Linked DNA regions of Homo sapiens: region 1 is linked to region 2. Evidence: promoter capture Hi-C in human tissues and cell types (Jung and others, 2019). All regions are on one chromosome and are shown on one strand. Each heading gives the region's core, a stretch centred on a gene start or on the middle of the fragment in contact. The rest is flanking DNA. Distances are from core to core; before and after follow the strand shown.

Evidence for each region. The method cuts DNA at HindIII sites, captures the fragments that hold promoters and counts their contacts. A contact is called where the count stands out against the background at its distance.
Region 1: a contact is called between a fragment that was not itself captured here and the fragment with the promoter of CFL1 in region 2, in 1 of the 25 tissues and cell types used here (spleen).

Annotation. Positions count from the first base shown.
Region 1 is chr11:65,098,119-65,104,726 of GRCh38, forward strand. All of the region lies in intron 2 of VPS51 (VPS51 subunit of GARP complex), which reads left to right. Among named protein-coding and RNA genes, the nearest start is that of VPS51, 5.2 kb to the left of the region's middle. RefSeq lists a silencer at 4,119-4,413. The HindIII fragment of the contact is 4,540 bases long and covers 1-4,051 here.
Region 2 is chr11:65,856,930-65,860,313 of GRCh38, forward strand. It overlaps CFL1 (cofilin 1), which reads right to left and starts at 1,251. Exons shown (of 4, transcript NM_005507.3): 1 at 1,168-1,251. The coding sequence starts at 1,170. It also overlaps a transcript of MUS81 not described here. RefSeq lists silencers at 817-1,216, 2,627-2,706 and enhancers at 823-1,363, 1,297-1,346, 1,737-1,806, 2,367-2,456, 2,977-3,026 and 1 more. The HindIII fragment of the contact is 15,299 bases long and covers 1-3,384 here.

The DNA.
Region 1 (6,608 bases), core at 532-3,031, 760 kb before region 2:
TGCGGTGAGCCAAGATCACGTCACTGCACTCCAGCCTAGGCAGCAGAGCAAGACTCTGTCTGAAAAAAAAAATAATAAGAAGAAGAATCCCTGACATCAAGGAAACCTCAGTAAGGTGTAGTTTCTCTTATTATTGATAGCTTTCTTTTCTGCTCCAGGGAAGAATAGGTGGTCTTGTCCCTCCCTTTCTTTCTCCCTTCCTTCCCTCCTTAACTAAGCAAAGAGAGAAGATGTATGATATTAGGGGACACAAAGATCATGTCGAGGCTTTTTTTTTCTTCTGTCCTCTTTATTCTCTAGTGCCAGACAGTGTTCCACTGTTTTCCACACTAGCTTCTGTGCTGTTTTGAGGAGATGTACTACTCAGACTTTTGTAGTAATTGTACACCCACGTGTAGTAAGTCCAGGAGCCAGATCCAAAGGGTTTACCTGCAGCCTGTGGAATGTTCTGGGAGCATCTGTGGGGTTGCATTCTGATGTCTTACTCTCGTGTCACAGTGGTGGGTGTGGTAACCTATACACATTGTTCTTTTATCTGATTTGAAGCAGATTCCATGAGTAGGCACCTTTCTGTTAGCTAATACCAGCATCAAAATGGCAAGAAATCATAGTTTCTGTGCTGGGATATTTCTCACAGGAATTTAATAAGATTACATTTTCCATTTGTTGGAATGTGTATAATAATATTTTGAGACTTAGCTCTTTTTGTACATCCCACAAAAGGAACAAACGTTTGGAAAAGTGTGAGGATAACCAGGAGCATTGATGTCTTAGAAGCTTAAGTGAGGGGCCGGGCATGGGGTTCTCACCCGTGATCCCAGCACTTTGGGAGGCTGAGGTGGGTGGATCACTTGAGGCTAGGAGTTCAAGACCAGCCTGGCCAACATGGTGAAACCCTGTCTCTACTAAAAATACAAAAATTAGCTGGGCAAGGTGGTGCATGCCTGTAGTCCAAGCTACTCATGAGGCTGAGGCAGGAGAATTGCTTGAACCCAGGAGGTGGAGGTTGCGTGAGGAAGGTGTTTCAAGACATAGATTTGATAGACTTGGGCGAGACACTCAGGAAAGTAATGTAGCATGGAGTGTGTGTTGATTGGGCAAGAGAGAGAGAAAAATGAGAAAGGAACTAGGTCCTCAGGAAGGAGGGGGGTGGAACAGAGCAGGGATGGAGGCATCGGCCTCAGCAAAGGGCCGGGAGCTCATCTATGGTAGCAGGAGGGGAAGCAGAATGTGGGCAGAGCCAGGCAGATAGTAGATGTGCAGTTTAACTAGAAACCTTCCAGAATGTATTAGGGATTTGGCTTTTATCCACAGAGAGCTAAAACAAATGAGTGATGTGCTCAGATTTCTGGTTTGAATAGATTCCTCCAGCTGCACTGGCAGGAATGGATGGGGCTGAGCACAGTGGCTCATGCCTGTAATCCCTGCACTTTGGAAGGCTGAGGTGGGAGGATCACTTGAGCCCAGGAGTTTGAGACCAGCCTGTGCAACATAGTGAGACCCGATATCTAGAAAAAAAAAAATAGCTGGGTATGGTGGCACACACTTGTTAGAATAAACCCAGCTACTTGGGGAGGCTAAGGTGGGTGGATCACATGAGCCCAGGAGCTGGAGATTGCAGTGAGCTATAATCTCACCATTGCACTCTAGCCTGGGTGACAGAGCAAGACCTAGTCTCAAAAAATAAATAAATAAATAAAAAGGCCAGGTGCGGTGGCTTATGCCTATAATCTTAGCACTCTGAGAGGCCGAGACGGGTGGATCATCTGAGGTCAGGCATTTGAGACCAGGCTGGCCAATATGGTGAAACCCCATCTCTACTAAAAATACAAAAATTAGTCAGGCATGGTGGCAGGCATCTGTAGTCCCAGCTACTCAGGAGGCTGAGGCAGGAGAATCGCTTGAACCCAGGAGGCGGAGGTTGCAGTGAGTCGAGATCGCGCCACTGCACTCCAGCCTGGGCAACAGAGCGAGACTCCGTCTCAAAAATAATAATAATAATAAATAATAATAAAAGGACAGCCCACAGAATGGGAGAAAATATTTGCAAGTTAGTTATCTAATAAAAATCTAGTGTTCAGAACATAAAAAGAACGTTTTTTAGCTCAGGGCTAAAAAGACAAATAACCCTAATTTAAAATGGGCAAAGGATTTGAATAGACACTTCTCCAGAGAAAACATACAAGTGGCCGAAAAGCACATATAAATATGCTCAGCATCATTAGGTCTTAGGGAAATGCAAATCCAAACCACAAAATGCTGCACCCAGTGTGGAAGACAGTTTGACCATTCTTCAAAACCACACACAAGATTACCATATGATCGGCAATTTTACTCCTAGGAATATACCAAAGAGAATTGAAAACATGTTCACATAAAAACATGTACACAAGTGTTCATAGCAGTGTTTTTTTTTTTTTTTTTTTTTTTGAGATGGAGTCTAGCTCTGTCACCCAGGCTAGAGTGCAGTGGTGCCATCTTGGCTCACTGTAACCTCCGCCTCCCCAGTTCAAGCGATTCTCCTGCCTCAGCCTCCTGAGTAGCTGGGATTATAGGTGTGCACCATCACACCCGCCTAATTTTTTTATTTTTATTTTTTGTATATTTACTAGAGACGGGATTCCACCTTGTTGGCCAGGCTGGTCTTGAACTCCTGACCTCAAGTGATCCGCTTGCCTCGGCTTCCCAAAGTACTGGGATTACAGGCAAGAGCCACCATGCCTGGCCAATAGCAGCACTTTTTATAATAGCCACAAGGTGGAAGCAATCCAAATGGCCATCAATTGAATGAATATAAACAAATATCCACACAGTGGAATATTATTCAGCCATAAAAATAGATATAACATACTGACACAGGCTACAACATAGATTAACCTTGGAAACATGCTAATGTTTCATATGCCTATGATTCCATTTCTGTTAAATGTATTCTGTAGCGAATAGACAAATCCATAGAGACAGAAACTAGATTAATGGTTGCCAAGTTCTAGGAGTGGGGGAATAAGGAATGACTGCCAAGGGTTACAGGGTTTCTTTAGGGGATGATGAAATGTTCTGGAATTACGTAGTGAGGTTGGTTGTACAACCTTGTGAATATATTAAACATATTAAAAACCACTGAATTGGTATGTCAATTATATCCCAATTAAAAAGAAAACCAGGCATTGAGCCAGATTTGGCCTGCAGGCTGTAGTTTGCCAACCTCTCACCTAGACATTGAGTTTCATTATGTAATAATGCATTTACTTGTGTCAAAATTAGAAAGATCTCAAACATTATACAGGGAAAAGCCTCTCCTAATTCTTTTCTCTAGGCAAAGACAAAGCAGTCTTTGACAGTACATTTCACTGAAAATTAACAGAGCCCAGGTGGGATTATGGCTCATACCTATAATCCCAACACTTTGTGAGGCAGAGGCAGGCAGATTGCTTGAGCTCAGGAGTTCGAGACCATCCTGGCCAACAGGTTATACCTGTCTCTACAAAAAATACAAAAATTAGCTGGGTGTGGTGTTGTGTCCCTGTAGTCCGAGCTGCTCAGGAAGCTGAGGTGGAAGGCTTGTACCTGGGAGGCAGAGGTTGCAGTAAGCCAAGATTGTGTCACTGCACTCCAGCCTGGGTGACAGAGCCAGACCTTGTCTCAAAAAAAAAAAAAAAAAAAAAAAAAAAAAGAAAATTAACAGACATACAGAAAAGTGCACATAAGTGGACAGCTCCATGGATTTCACAAAGGGAGCACAGTCACATAATCAGCATCCAGGTCGGGAAACAGCATAACCAGCAAAGCCCCCTGAGCCTCCTACCAGTTACCACCCAGTCCCCTCCCAAGGTAGCCAACATCCTCGCATCCAGATGGCTTTCACTCTCCCTGGTTACAAACTGCTTTTCTTAACAAGCTTTTTTTTTTTTTTTTTTTTGAGACAGAGTCTTGCTCTGTCATCCAGGCTAGAGTGCAGTGGCCCAATCGGCTCACTGCAACCTCCGCCTCCGGGGTTCAAGTGATTCTCCTGTCTTAGGCTTCCAAGTACCTGGGATTACAGGCACCTGCCACCACACTTGGCTAATTATTGTATTTTCAGTAGAGACGGGATTTCACCATGTTGGTCAGGCAGGTGACCTCAGGTGATCCACCTGCCTTGGCCTCCCAAAGTGCTGGGGTTACAGGCGTGAGCCACTGTGCCCAGCCTGCTTTTCTTAACAAGCTTGAAATGCAAAGATAAACAGTGTAGTCTTTGTGACTGAATGGTGTGGATGCTTTCACTGTTGTTTTTGGATATGGTACAACTTTTATCTCCAGTGTAATGGCTCCATGGCTGGGAAGGCAGCGACAATGACAGCACACAGCACTGTTGGGTTTTCTTTTACTCTATTTTCCTAACAACTTAGTGTTTGGATTTTACCCTTTAGAAGTTGGATTCAAGCTTCCTTCTTGAGGTAGCCCCTAAGTGTCATGGGCTCAAACACCCACTACCAAAAGAGTCTGCTCTTTTCATGGTAGCTTTTGGCAGACCTGGAAGGAGATTGTGTCACATGGCCTGTAAACAAAACCAGTAATTCACTGGGTGAAGACCAAATGCCTCATCAACTGCCAAGCCTCTGTCTGTCTCCCTTAGATCAGTAGCCCATGATCCCTTTACGAACCTCAGCCTCGGCTCTGCTTTTATTGTTTTTCACTGCATAGCGCTGCCTTTGCTATGTCCTTTAGTTCACCATCTATGAATTGGCAAGAAAAATTTTCTTGCCAGGCACAGTGGCTCACTCCTGTGCTCCCAGCACTTTGGGAGGCTGAAGTGGGAGCATTGCTTGAGCCCAGAAGTTTGAGACCAGCCTGGGCAACATAGAGAGACCCCATCTCTACACAAAATTTAAACAAAAATTAAAAAATTAGCCGGGTGTGATGGCGCTTGTGTGTAGTCCCAGCTACTTCAGAAGCTAAGGTAGGAGGATCACTTGAGCCCCAGAGTTCAAGGCTGCAGTAAGCTGTGTTTGCACCACTGCATGCCATCTTGGCTCACTGTAACCTCCGCCTCCCCAGTTAAGGTGATTCTCCTGCCTTAGCCTCCTGAGTAGCTGGGATTATAAGTGTGCATCACCATGCCTGTAGACAGAGCAAGACCCTATCTCAAGCAAAGAAACTCAAAATAATTATGATTTCCCCAACAAAATGCAGGCAATGGTCCCTATGGTCCCAAAAGTAATATAGATGTTTCACATCATGTGATTTTATTCCTTAGTAACCTTCCTTTCTATGAAATCATCTCTAAGAGGGCTAAATGATCCTTTCTTGTGGACTGTGTTGTTAAAATGAAAAGTCCATTTTGCTGATACGTAATCTACCTTTCCATGTAATTTTTTAAAAAATCCCTTAATAGCTCTACAGATGTGAGCCCTGTAGATTCTTTGTCTCAGACAGTTCTTTCTCTTATATTTTCTCTAATATTTTTTTCCTGCATTTTTTGTTTCTGTTTGTTTCTTGTCAAATTGACATCAATGCTTTTCTCCTTACTCACCCTTCCAGCTGTCTCCCCAAGTGGGGTAGATTCCCAGTGTTGCTTGGAGAACATTCCTACAGTCCCAGAGCCACACACAGACCAGGTGTGGGTGTGTGAAGGCTCACAAGTGATTGCAGTTAGATATTTCCAGATTCTTCTTTGTAAATGCTGATCAGTTTGCATAACCACCAGCAAAGAAGAGAATACCTCTTTCAATCTTTGACAATCTGAGAAGTGAAAAGTGGTATCTCTTATTGTTTATAGTAACGTTTACAGGGTGTTTTTTTTTGTTTTTTTTTTTTAGGGCTTTCTATTTATTCAATTATTATTATTTGAGACAGAGTGTTGCTCTATTACTCAGGTTAGAGTGCAGTGGCACAATCTCAGCTCACTACAACTTGTGCCTCCAGGGTTCAAGCGATTCTCCTGCCTCAGCCTTCCCAGTAGCTAGGATTACAGGCACCTGCCACCACGCCCAACTACTTTTTGTATTTTTACTAGAGACAGGGTTTTACCATGTTGGCCAGGCTGGTCTCAAACTCCTGACGTCAAGTGATCTGCCTGCCTCGGCCTCCCAAAGTGCTGGGATTACAGGCATGAGCTACCGTGGCTGGCCTATTTATTTGATTATATCATCTGCAAATAGTGATACTTCTCCCTCCTTTCCAATTTGTGTATCTCCATAATACATCTCGTGACTCTAGCTGAGTTGGCTAATGCCCCAGAACAATGTAGATAACATTGGCAATCAAGGTTGTCCTTGCCATGTTTTGACTTTAATTGGAGTGCTTCTAGCACTGCCTCGGTAAACATGATACTGAGTTTTGGAGGTCAGGGAAATATTTAGCTGCTCATATGTTATTGAGAGTTTTTTAAAAATCAAGAATAGATGTTGAAATATCTATTAACATGGCAAATTATTATGAGATCCTCTAATTTTGAGTCATCCTGGCATTCATGAAACAAAAACCCTTTTGTGTTTATCAATTATTATTTTAATATGCTGCTGGATTTTGTTTGCTTATTTGTGCATCTCCATTTGTTTATTTAATTCATCCTTGCATCTCCATTCATAAGAGATATGAATGTGTATATGTGAGGTATTTCTGTTATG
Region 2 (3,384 bases), core at 1-2,500:
CTCTGCGTCGTGCTTCGGGGTGCCCGAGCCAGGAGAGGGAGGGGCAATCCAAGGTAAATCTGGTCCCCCAAACTCCCCGGAACTGCAGAAGAAGCCGGCCACGTGACTCGGCCGCATCCGGAGTGGGCGGGGACAGGAGATCGGCTGGGCCCGGCCCCCTCACCAATGCAGAAACGCGTATCCGAGAGGCAGCAGCATCTCCAGGTCCCTAACCCTGTGGAATCGCCCTAAAACAACGGGTGTATCAGACCCATCTCCTGCAGGCAGGAGCCTGGGCAAGCTACATAACCTTCGGTTTTCTCAGCCCTCGGGCCGTATACAGGGGGCGGGGTGGTTTCCGGGCGGTGCCCGCCTGGGTCACTTCCCTAAACTCGGCTCCACCCTCACTCAGGCCCATCCGGGAAGGCCTCGCTGGCCCAGGGCTTCGGCACCGGCGGCCGGGCCTGAGCGTGCGCGCACGCGCCGACAGACAGCGCCGTTCCAGCCCTCGCCCGATGCACGGGTGAGAACGCAGCTCGTTAGATGCGCTCCCGAACGGGCCGCGGTCTCTGCGATGCCCCCTCCAAGCCTTGCGGTGCAAGGCCTTAATCGCAGGCACCCACGCCCCAACCGGGACCCCGTCTTCCCAGCATCACCCCTCGCCGCGCCAGCACCCGCCCCTCCCGGGCGCAGGCATCCCTGCCACCTGCTCCCGAGACGGACCCGGCTGCCGAGGGAGGGTGACGCGCAGACAGGAACAGCCTTGGGTGGGGCGCGCGCGCCGAGACCTCTCGCGCGCTTTTTCCTCGCCGCCCCCGGGCCGGGTTTGGACGCCGCATGCTCCAGTCGAGAGCGCGCCCCTAAGAAGAAAGGCGCGACGCCGGCCGTTCCGCGAGGGGCGCCCCAGCGCGCGCCCCGAACCCCTCCCCCCGCGGCCGGTGTCCGCGCGGGCGCACCAGCGGGTGGGGGAGGGGAGCCCAGGCGGAGCGCGAGCGACGTCCAGACCGGCCCTCCCCGGCGCCCACGGGCGCGCACGCGCATTCCGGCACCGCCCGCCCCTTCGTGCGAGACCCTCATCCCGCCCGGGGCGCTGGGGGAGGGGGTGCGGACGTCGCTCCCCAGTCGCTTCCCGCGCGCAGGCGACCGACCCGCAGCCGCCTCCCTCAGGCGCCGTGGCCTGCCGCTCACCATGTTTCCGGAAACGAAAAGGAGAGGGCACCGAGAGCCGCAGAAGACGAGAGCGCTGCAGCCGCTGCCGGGACCCGACTGAACGCGGCCTCTCCCGGCCCCTTCCGTTTAGTAGGAGCCGCACAATGAGGGGTGGGGCGGGCTTCCGGCGCTCCCACCGCGAGCCGACGGGAAATGGAGTCCGCTGGCCCTGCGCCGCCGCCTCGCTCGCTGGGTAACGGAGTCTTCCCGCCGGCCGGCTCCGAGCTGCAGTGCATGTAGGGAAATGTAGGCCCAGGTCCTGGGCGGCACCGCAGCGCGCAGCGCGAGCCCATTGGTCCAATTTCCCAGGAACCGCTCTGAGCCCGGCGAGGCGGCGCTCAGTAAAATGACCCGAAAACGATCCCCGACTAAGCGGCTCTTTATCCCACAGCAAAACGGCTTTCTTAAGACCCATCTGGTATTATCTGGATCCCTTGGCCTGAAATTTTTGAGTGAGGTTAGGGTTTTGCATTTCTGAATCGAAGCAACTATTGATTAGCCTGGAATCCCGACCTAAAGCAAAGGAAATCACAAGTATGAAGGCGTCGTCAGTCGGATAAACACTAGTACTCTGCATGTGTAAAGCCACTCTCGTCTCCTGAAAAAAGGCCATGTCCAACGTCAGTAAAACAAGAATAGGAGGAAAAGGCACAGGGGAAAGGTACAAGGAAATCTCTGAGAGCTTTGTTCTTGTTTAAAGATGTTTGGCAAAGTCATGAGGCGTTAAAGGGTAAAGACGAGGGTTTGTGCATTCAATTCAAGGCTTCTTTACATGCCTTTACGTGCCAATGAGAAGAAATAGATATTAAACCAGACTTGAACCCAGCTCTCGAGTTGATAGCCAGGTACATGGTTATTCTAACATCCGCAAAACTGAGACAAGTTCTGTGGTAGTATATGCCTTAAAAAAAAAAAGAAACGAGCGGGGGACTCCGGGATGATTTTGTTGTTCTAGAACAGTGACCACAGCCTCACACTCTGCAGGAAAAGACTGGGTCGCAAACAAGTCAGAGGCAAACCCAGAAAGGGAACTGGGGGCCCTAATCCTATAAACGGAATTAAGGGTGTAAACGGAGAGCGATGCCTGGGAGTGGGGTACCTTGCAGAGCATACCGGGGGTTGTAGTCGGGGACATTCCACAGCACCGCCCCCGCCCGGACTCCCGGCGCTCCAGGTGGAGACAGCAGCTTGACCCCGCCTCCCGCGAGCGACCCTACATGAATATGAGGCTAGCGCCCCCTTTTCTGAGCCTTAGAGTTTCCAAGAGCAACGGGGAGAGAGAGGGGGGCTTCGCAGTTACCCTGGAGACGCGCTCTCGCCCGCCCCCAGCCGCGGGATGCCCTAGATGTCCTTATTAGGACAAGAGACTCGAGGGGGCGGGGCCAGCCCGACAGCCGGCTTGAGGCTCCTTATAAGGCCGCGGCGGGCGGGAGGCGGGAGCCGGAGCCCATTGGTCCAATTTAGCTTGGCTGGGGCTACTGCGCCGTGGGCTAGGCACAGTCCTGAGGGGCGGGACTGGAGCTCTGGCGCCCACCTCTCCCTTCCTCGCAGGCTGGAGACCTGCGTGTTGCGACTTCCGGCATAGCAGCTAGAGGCCGGGTGCTGCTTCAAACCCTGGCGGGTCGCCTGTGTCCAACTCAGCTATACGTGTCTTTCAGGCTTCTCAGGTTGAAGCCCTTTGTAGGGTTTCCATCTTCAACCTCCCTGAGGGTCTCCCACTTCCGATTAGCCACAAAAATGACGAAGTGTTCTCCCCTCTACCTGTGTCTGGGCTTCTTAACCCGCAGCCTGCTCCTCCGCTCCCAAACCCAACCGCGTGCCCATCTCAGGCCTCCCCAACTGCCAGGATGCCCAAGCACCTCTTACTTACAGTCCTCCTTCCTCTAGGCCTCTGACCCCCGACATTCCGAGTTCTATTTTGGGCCTTCTCGGCACGTCCCCGACTTCCTCTCCACCACACACTCTTTGCCCTGTATCCCGGGGATGAGGATCACCATTTCCTCCAAGGGTCCTGCAGCTCCTCCTGCCTTACCTTTGTGTCCTCATCCCCGGCACCCATTTCTGGGTGTCCCTCCCACCAATACGTTTGCACCCGTTTGTCTCCTAGCCCCCGCCTCTCCTGGACTCTTTTCAAGACCAGTCTCCATCTCCAGCCTCCTTCAAGCTTGAGGCTGAAGCTGACAATCTTAAGAGACC